Regions from separate parts of the Homo sapiens genome. Here region 1 is linked to region 2. The links are contacts of gene promoters, found by promoter capture Hi-C in blood cells and fetal thymus (Javierre and others, 2016). All regions are on one chromosome and are shown on one strand. Each heading gives the region's core, a stretch centred on a gene start or on the middle of the fragment in contact. The rest is flanking DNA. Distances are from core to core; before and after follow the strand shown.

Region 1 (4,518 bases), core at 578-3,077, 45 kb after region 2:
TATTTCCAACTATGTCAATAGATACGTTTATAATTTTATGATCTTTCAACAAGGTCAGTTGAGTTTATCACCTGTAGTTCAGCATCAGTGCTGCAAGTAATTCTTCGCTGGTTGTCTTTGGACCTTTAAGAAAGAGAATGATACATAGGGTTATTAAGCAACTAATTAACCTTTGTGTGGTGTAATGTCCCTTTCTGCACTGAGATTATGCATGTTCTCTTCTTTCATTCTTTTTCACCAGACTAACACCTATGCTAATGCATGTTGAAAGGAACTTTTTAACAACTTTAATATTTGACTTGTAGCTTATCTGCTCTCATAAATGCTTGCTGTGGAGAAAGTATCATTTCCCCACCTCCTGCATGCTTATACACTGTAGGTTATAAATGAAGTGGAGAAAGCACCCAAAGAGCTGAGAAAAGAGCTCATGAAACGCAGGAAAGAGGAGCTTGCACAAAGCCAGCATGCTCAGGTAACAGCAGCAGCTTAATGCTACTAAAACCAGAAAGCACCATTTTCTCACAGCTTGATAAACCATGGTTGAAAGGGTAAATTTTAAGTGTTATTATTATATGATGTTGACTTCTCCCCATTCAAAAACTCCTGGAATCTTCTTTATTTAATACTAAATTCCTACTAATGGTGACATTTAAGTTGCTAATATGAAGTTAAGTGGAATGTTTGGAAAGTTGACTCCAGATGAAATAAACAAGTATATGAATGTATAATCCACTGTTATCTGATTTTAATCTTGATGGGAGCTTATAGTTTTAAGTAGTAATGCCAATGTTTGTTAGAAAACTTTTAGGACATAAAAATAGAGGATGGTATATAAGCTTTGTGCTTACAAAAAGTATGCCCATTAAAACGCTATTATTTCTATAAAGTGCAGTTAGAAGAAAAATAGCAAATGGTAACTTTAAATGGTAGTTCAAACATGTATTGCTTTTAAGCTTGACAACATAAGCAACTTTAAAACTGGATTTTAAATATTAAGTACCTTGTTTTTCTTTTTGGTTCACAATCCAGCAGTTAAACAAATAGACTATTTTTACCTATATAGAGTTTAAAGCAACCCAATCTAGGTTATGATAAAGTTAAGCCTTGTCATAAGATGGGTGAATTCTTTTTTTTTTTTTTGGTGAATTGGAGTCTCGCTCTGTCTCCAGGCTGGAGTGCAGTGGTGTGATCTCGGCTCACTGCAGCCTCCGCCTCCTGGGTTCAAGCGATTCTCCTGCCTCAGCCTCCCGAGTAGCTGGGACTACAGGCATGCACCACCACGCCCAGCTAATATTTTGTATTTTTAGTAGAGATGGGGTTTCACCATGTTGGTCAGGATGGTCTCGATCTCTTGACCTCGTGATCTGCCCGCCTCAGCCTCCCAAAGTGCTAGGATTACAGGCGTGAGCCACCACCACCGGCTTGGTGAATTCTTTACGAAGTGAGATAAATTAGTATTTGTAACAGAATTTTCTAGAATTATCTCACATGACAAGTCTTTCATATGAAGGAAGATGAATCTTCTGATTAAATTTATGCTAAGCCTGGAGGCAAGGATAAATGAGCTCAATTTTCCATTACATAAGTCAGTGAAAGGAAGAAGAGATGTGGATCGTGTATTTAATCGATCCTTTGAATTATCTTTTTAATTTGTTGTTTTATGTGATTTAACAAGTGGTTCCCAGACTTGTGGATTTTATAGACCCATAAAAAGAAACATAGAAACAATAAAAACCACTGGGGACCATGACATGGGCTGCCATTAAAAAAATTTTTTTTTAAATTTTGCTAAGTAAAGATATTTTAAAACTGCCATTTACTTGTCACCATCATTTCAAAGGAGAGAATATTTTTAACACCATGAAAAATAAGGAAAATATAATCTTAGAATTTAAAAATTAAATAAAACTAGCTTGTCTGAATAAATTTAGTTTGCTTTTGTTTTTTTCTTGCTATGAGCCATTGAAACATTTTTTCTTGGCCTGGTGTGGGTATTCCTAGTTTAAGGTGGTTAATAGCAAACGCAGCATTTACTATATGTCAGGCATTGTTCTAAATGCTTTATGTGTATGAACTTATTTAATCTGAGTTAATTATCCTTGAGGTAGTCTTATTACCCCCAGTTTACAGTTGAGGGAACTCAAGCACAGGAAGGCTGAGTGACCCTCCCAAGGTCACACACCTGGGTAGTGGTAGAGCCAGGATTCTCATCCAGATAAGTTTGGGTACATGTTTCACACACTGATTCGCTGCACCATGCTGCCTCTCATATTTAAGCTACCTACTTGTGCTGCAACTTAAACTCTCGTCAGCTTGACTCAGTGGTTCTTGGCCATGTCTTGTTACCAAGTGAAGAGGAAGTCCTTGCTGGCCACACATGTACTTTTGGTTAATTTGGATTTCAAACCAGATTAGAATAATATGGTTTTTGCCTTATAAAGGAATATAGATTTTTATTAATTCCAAAAGGCCATGTATCAAATTCTAAAGTCAAAACTGAGAATTAATGTTGAATGAATTAGGTAATACTATGTTTTAATAAGACTTTGTTGGTGATTTTTCATATAATTTTGGTAACAGGCCAGTATTTTCTGAGTAGAGCTGAAAGTAATCATAAATTCCTTCAGTAAATCTAATGAGGAATTTAGTAATCTAACAAATATTAAAAGTATTTCTATCTACTGCTTTAAGCGAAGGTACAAAAGCTTTATAACTTTACAGTCTATTTCAAACTTTTTTTGAGAATTCATAAGTAATGGTCATACAGTCATGGAGCTAGAACATATTTGATCATTTAAGTCCAGTGGTTTTCAAACTATACTAACAGGAATTTTGACTTTGAAAGAAGCAACTATGGGAGTCCCTAAGACGGCAAGAACTCTGGGCTGTGAGCCCCTGCTTCTGCTTCAACTCAAGCAACACCACTTTTGCTGTGGTTTATAAACTGGGATTTTTGGGGGTGAATTTTAAAAAAGGGGGTTCTACTAGCTTAAAAAACAACAGCAACACACTAGAGTTTGGAAACCACTGATCTAGTTCAAATCCTTCATTTTACAGATGAGAAAGAGGTCCATCTGTTAAGTGACTTGTTCCAGGCCTCAAGAAACTCAACATTTGTATAATTATTCTTTTCGTTTACAAAAAGTCATTCAGATATATTCTCACCTGGGAGGTGCATTCTATTCTGATCCACAGGGTGTTGCTCAGATCATGATTCAGTCTTTTCAGTTGTCATCTTGTGCAGTCTTCAACGCCCAAATGCAGGACGTAAGTCCCACGTGCCTGTGGGAGGATGGCTTCTCCTGTTTTACCTGCCTTTTCACATGTGCCTTTTCATTGTTGGCTTCATTTGCCAAAATCTAGATGATTGATACATGATAATGTTTGTAATGACAATAATAGTGATAACCTGACTTTAGACTTCAGTATTCTTCAGAGTTTTCACATTTGGTTCTCATTGCCACCACCCTAATATAGGGATGGAGTCATATAACCATTTTACAGATGAAGAAATTGAGGCACAGAAGACTGTGATCTGCCTCAAGTCACATAAGAGATTAACGGTAGAGCTGGAACTAGAGCACTTTTAACACGGTGTTCTGTCTACCCCGCCACAAATTCTAATTTGGGATTTTCATGTTTCTCAAGAAAATAAAATACCCTCTCAATAGTATAAGCTTTGCACATGTGAGAAATTGAATGCTGTGATTAGATTTTTATTTTCGTGTGAAGTGACATTTTGATTGCATATATGTTTATGTAGATGTTTTAATTATGGATATGGTCAGAAAAGCCATGTTAAAAGTAGTGATTTTCATTCCGTTTAACTCTATTTTCCATTTATTCAAGTAGTCAATAATGAATAGTGAGTTTCTATTCTCCTTATTGTAGTTTTAAGTTAAGTTGGAAATTCCAAGCTGTATTCTTTCTTGCAGTTTCTATAGGGAAATAACTAGCTCATTTAACACTGTAATTTTTGTTTGTGACGTCTGATATATACAACAGGAGTAGATAGAATACAGCTTGATTTCAACCCCTCCTTTTTCCTCTCCTGAAATTAGACTTGTTTTTTATTATTGGCAGCTGTTTGACTTTTTACTGTTTTCTAAGAGAGTAAGTAAAACATTGATTTTTAAAAGGAGAGGGAGAAATTATGAATTACGATCACTTTTCTGATCATTACCATTTTTAGCCTTTGTTTTCATTTAAAATGATCAAATTCTATACAAATAGCCCAATATATCATAACCCTTTCTTACAGTTTTCTAGACCCCAAAGTTATATTTTTAATGTTTATAGTTATCTGATTAATATGATAAAATTGTTTATCCACATTTAAACTTGTACTTTTAAAGGGCACTCATTTTACAATTTATGTGTTTACTTTAAAAAATGATTTTTGGCCTTAATAATTTGGGTTCTTTTGTTGTTGTCTTTTATTTGTTAATCCAAGTGATTAAGTTCATCTTTTTTTTTTTAAGGTGTGTTTGTGTAATCTATTTGAAATGTGAGTGCTCT
Region 2 (4,711 bases), core at 1,007-3,506:
TGGTCTCAAATTCCTGGGCTCAAGAAATCCTCCCACCTCAGCCTGGGATTATAGGTGTGAGCCACCCCACCCAGCCAGTAATACACTATCTTTTAATTGACAAAATAGTAAAGTCTTTTCTATTTTGAAAAGAACAAAATAAGGAAACAGACATATACCCATTGACCGAAATCTACTTTTGGCAATTTATCCTAAGGAAATAATCAAATATGTGGAAAAAGATTTGTGTACAAAGATATTTATCCGTATTTTATTAAAAACAGAGGAATTATAATCTAAATATCTCATAATGGAAGAGAACAATTATTAATTGTATTGAAATATGCGAAGTGCAGGATGCAAACCTTTTTATGTAATACAACCTCAACCATGTTGAAAAAAGTTAATGCACAACCAAAAAAATCCTGTTTTGAAATATAAGTTCTTATCAATGGTTGTGTCTGGATAGTAGAATTATAGTACTTTTAATTTAATTTTATTTTTTAAGCATTTCATTTTCTCCATAAATGATAATAATTACAAATAATTATAGTATTGTTTTCACAGGTCTATACATTTGTCAAAACATATAAAAGTGCACACTTGCAGCAAACCACCATGGCACGTGTATACCTATGTAACAAACCTGCACGTTCTGCATGTGTATCCCAGAACTTAAAGTATAATTTTAAAAAAAAGCAAACAAGTACTAGCAAAAAAACCAAATGCACACTTTAAATATGTACAGTTTATTGTATATCAATATATTGCAATAACACTTAAAAAAATAGAAGGATCTCAAGGAATTGAATCATCTTAAGCGTCTTACTGGAAGGGGGGTTTTGCTATGCCATTTTGGGGCTGAAGGGCAAAATGACTGGGGGGGCAGACATTATATAAATAGCAATATATACATACATTGTCTCTGCTCCAGATACCGCCATTCATTCATTCATTCACCAGATCTGCCTTCCTATTATATGCCAGGAATGTTGCCGGGTACTTGGATATCTTGATGAACAACAAACCACTGGCCTGAAAGAGCTCCCGTCTGGTGGAGGAGGGGAAGGTAGGTCACCACCTGACGGATTCCAGCCAACGTCCACACTGCCCCACCAGGGAGTGCTGCCCAAGGGGGCTGGAGGCAGATCAGGAAGTGGGGGCCTTAGCTGAGGTGGAGTCACCAAGAGTGACACCAGGTTTACAGTTGTGGAGGTGGCCAGAAGTTAGTTTTACCCTCAAGGGAGTGTCGCAGTCATCAGTTGAGAAGTGGGGGCCCGGCGCGGTGGCTCACGCCAGTACTTTGGGAGGCCGAGGCGGGCGGATCACGAGGTCAGGAGATCGAGACCATCCTGGCTAACACGGTGAAACCCCGTCTCTACTAAAAATACAAAAAAATTAGCGGGGCGTGGTGGCGGGCGCCTGTAGTCCCAGCTACTCGGGAGGCTGAGGCAGGAGAATAGCGTGAAGCCGGGAGGCGGAGCTTGCGGTGAGCCTAGTTCGCGCCACTGCACTCCAGCCTGGGCGACAGATCGAGACTCCGTCTCAAAAAAAAAAAAAAAAAAAAAAAAAGAAAGAAAGAAAAAAAAGAGAAGTGGTCTTAAACAGTTTTTATGTATCTGTGTCTATCTTGCCTGCACACTTAAAACAACAAGAGTAAGAACTAAGATTGAGCGTTTACGGGTGCAGGGGCCGCGCAAAGGGCTTCCATCTATTGTCTCATTCACAACCTTCTGGTAGGGACTATTAGGATCTTCATTTTACGGCGAGGAAACCGAGGCTCGGAGAGGTCACCTGCCCAAGGTCACAGATCTCTCTCTCCAAAGCTCAAGCTCACAACCACCACACAAACTCCCCTCTCACTGTACCTGGGGCCCGTCTGAGAGCGAAAAAGTCCGCTTTCAGGTCCCAACCCTAACAGGTCCGGCTTTCACTCCACAGTTTTTCCCAGATCCAGAATGGAGACAACATCCGCTAGCACAATCAACAGGGTCGTCCCACGGGGGCCGCTCCATCAAGGCCGTGGACTGACAGGATTTGGGGCTTGGAGGGCAAATGAGAAACAATCGTCAGGGACCGAAGAACAAATGCGTCCATCACACCAGCCCCCCGCACCCCGAGCCCCGTGCTCCGCTCACGCGAACCCTCGGGGGCAGCCAGTCTGAGGGACGTAGCGCGCGTGCGCGGGGCCAGAGGGGACGCCCCCACGCGAGCGCGCGGTGAGCAGGGCGCGTGACCGGGCGGGCGCGCAGCCGGGAAAGCGCGCGGGCGCGCTACGGAGTCGGCGTCGGCGCGCGCTCCAGGCCGAGGCTGTGTGGGCTGGGGAGGGAGACAGGCGGCGGCGGCGGCGCCCCAGACCCGAGGGGACGCGCGGGCCTTGCGCCGCGGGAGCGGACGGCGGCGGAGGAGACCCTAGGCTCGCGGCCCGAGGCGGGAGGGCTCGGCTTCTCGACTGCCCGCCTCCGAGGCCGCCGGCCGCTTCTCTCTCCCAGAGTGGCCGCCGCCCCTGGAGACTCGCCGTGACACGGGCCTAAGCCGCCGCCGCGGGAGTCCTGACCGCTCGGACCCGTCGGATCAGGCCGGGTGGGAGCGAGCTTGCGGGCAGGTGCCGCTCCCGGAGGGTGGGCCGGAGGCGAGGCGCCCACCGCGCGGCTCGCGGGCCGGGCTCGGCGGAGGGGCCGCTCGCGCAGCACCCCCACCGCGGGCCGGAGCCCGGGTCGCCGCCCCGCCTTCTCCCGGGACCGCCCGGCCGGAGCTGCGGGGGCCGAGGGACGCCGCGCCCGCCGCCGCCAGCCGGGCTCGCGCGGGAGAGCAGGGAAGAGAAACTTTGCCTTTTATTGTTTTTAGTCCTTAAGTGCAAGGAACTCTGTGTTGGGAGGAAAAATGTCCTTCTTCAATTTCCGTAAGATCTTCAAGTTGGGGAGCGAGAAGAAGAAGAAGCAGTACGAACACGTGAAGAGGGACCTGAACCCCGAAGACTTTTGGGAGATTATAGGAGAACTGGGCGACGGAGCCTTTGGGAAAGTGTACAAGGTAAGAGGGGGAAAACGGGAAGTTGTACTGCGAAGGTAAAACAGCCACTGGCCTGGAGTGGCGGGAGGACTTCTGCTCCCCTGGTCCTTATCCTGTCCTTCTTTTGACTGTTACGGTTCGATGCAACTTTACTTGGCTGATCATCCAAGGAGTAGCTAAGAAGTCGGGTTTACGGTGGAACAAAATGGGGCCTGGATGGAGTTTAAAGAGCGATTGGAAAAGGAGACAGGGTTATAAAGTCTACTCTTTCAAACTTCAAAGGAAATGAGAGTGTTCTTTAATTTATAGGAGGGGTCTGGTTGTGCCCTTCAAGTATTTTAGAATGAGAAACTCATTGCACTTTGCAGTGGATTTGTCTACTGACTGCATTCGCGTGCATGCTTGTACTCCAACAGTTCTGTTTTTAGGGTCCAGTATATATATTTGGTTGTATCTAGAGCTAATACAGAACTAGTTGGGATCAAAGTGATTGCTACTTGCAGTCTCTTCTTGAGTTAGTTGCTTGACAGCATACTATAAAATAGAATGGAATTTCTGACAAAATTTCCAAAAAACCTTCATGTGGTACTAGTTTTAAATATATTTATGGTAAGCATTGACTAGAAGTCAGTATCAGCGCTTAAGCAGTTAAAAACACACACGCATGTATTTATTTCAATAGAAAGAGGCTTGGCGTTTCAACCTGAAGGCATTAATGTTAACTATTTAATATCTCCTAAGGAACATATGAATGATGTCATTGGAGTATTTTCATCCTGAAGGGCGAATTTTTTATGAGACAGCGTTTAGGGGAAGGACCCACAGGGTTGCCTAGAAGTGAAAACGTAAGAAAATAACTTATGTTTATACAGGACTTTGAAGTTTTTAAGTACTTTCAAATAATTTGGCCCCCACAAAAATCTTGTGAGGTAGGCAGGTCAGTATTAGTATCCACATTTCACAGATGAAGATATTGAAATTGTTCACAGTCACATGAGTCTCAGCCTAGACTTGAACTCAGGTCTTCTGAGCCCATATTTAGTATTGTTTTTTATTTTAACAGTCACTGGTAGAAATGAGAGCATTTTGCCTACTACTTTCTTTTTTTTTTGAGACGGAGTTTCGCCCCTTTTGCCCAGGCTGGAGTGCAATAGCGCGATCTCGGCTCACTGCAACCTCCCCCTCCCGGGTTCAAGCGATTCTCCTGCCTCAGCCTCCCGTAGTAGCTGGGTTTACAGGCATACGCCACCATGCCCGGCTAATTTTGTATTTTTAGTAGAGACAGGGTTTCTCCATGTTGGTCAGGCTGGTCTTGAACTCCCGACCTCAGGTGATCCGCCCGCCTCGGCCTCCCAAAGTGCTAGGATTACAGGCGTGAGCCACCGTCCCCGGCTGCCTACTACTTTCTAAGCACCATTACACTTCTGCCTCTGCCCTGCCTCAAATGCATCTTGTCAAAACCCCAGTCCTCATTCTTTATCCAGGCTAAAATATCTACTCCTCTCTGTGTGCTTTCAGAACACGTTGTTCACATGGCTATTATAGCACTTGTCACTTATTACAATTAATATGTTTATGTTTCTATAATAAAATTAAGGGCCAAAATTATGATACATATTTGGGTTCATTCACTGCCTTAGCGTATAGTGATGTGTCTGTTTATTTGTTGAAATGAAAGAATGTGTTTTGTCTGCATATGAATGCTGTCGTGGAAGCTATC

Evidence for each region. The method cuts DNA at HindIII sites, captures the fragments that hold promoters and counts their contacts. A CHiCAGO score of 5 or more calls a contact.
Region 1: a fragment that was not itself captured here is called in contact with the fragment with the promoter of SLK in region 2 in 5 of 17 cell types (activated CD4 T cells, total CD8 T cells, endothelial precursors and 2 more); the score reaches 6.6 in activated CD4 T cells.

Annotation. Positions count from the first base shown.
Region 1 is chr10:104,010,437-104,014,954 of GRCh38, forward strand. SLK (STE20 like kinase) reads left to right here. Exons shown (of 19, transcript NM_014720.4): 13 at 380-472. Among named protein-coding and RNA genes, the nearest start is that of MIR936, 35 kb to the right of the region's middle. The HindIII fragment of the contact is 1,752 bases long and covers 952-2,703 here.
Region 2 is chr10:103,964,884-103,969,594 of GRCh38, forward strand. SLK (STE20 like kinase) reads left to right here and starts at 2,257. Exons shown (of 19, transcript NM_014720.4): 1 at 2,257-3,012. The coding sequence starts at 2,863. LOC102724351 (a long non-coding RNA gene) reads right to left here and starts at 2,162. Exons shown (of 5, transcript XR_007062282.1): 1 at 898-2,162. RefSeq lists silencers at 2,119-2,578, 2,619-2,668, 2,679-2,778. The HindIII fragment of the contact is 5,644 bases long and covers 1-4,711 here.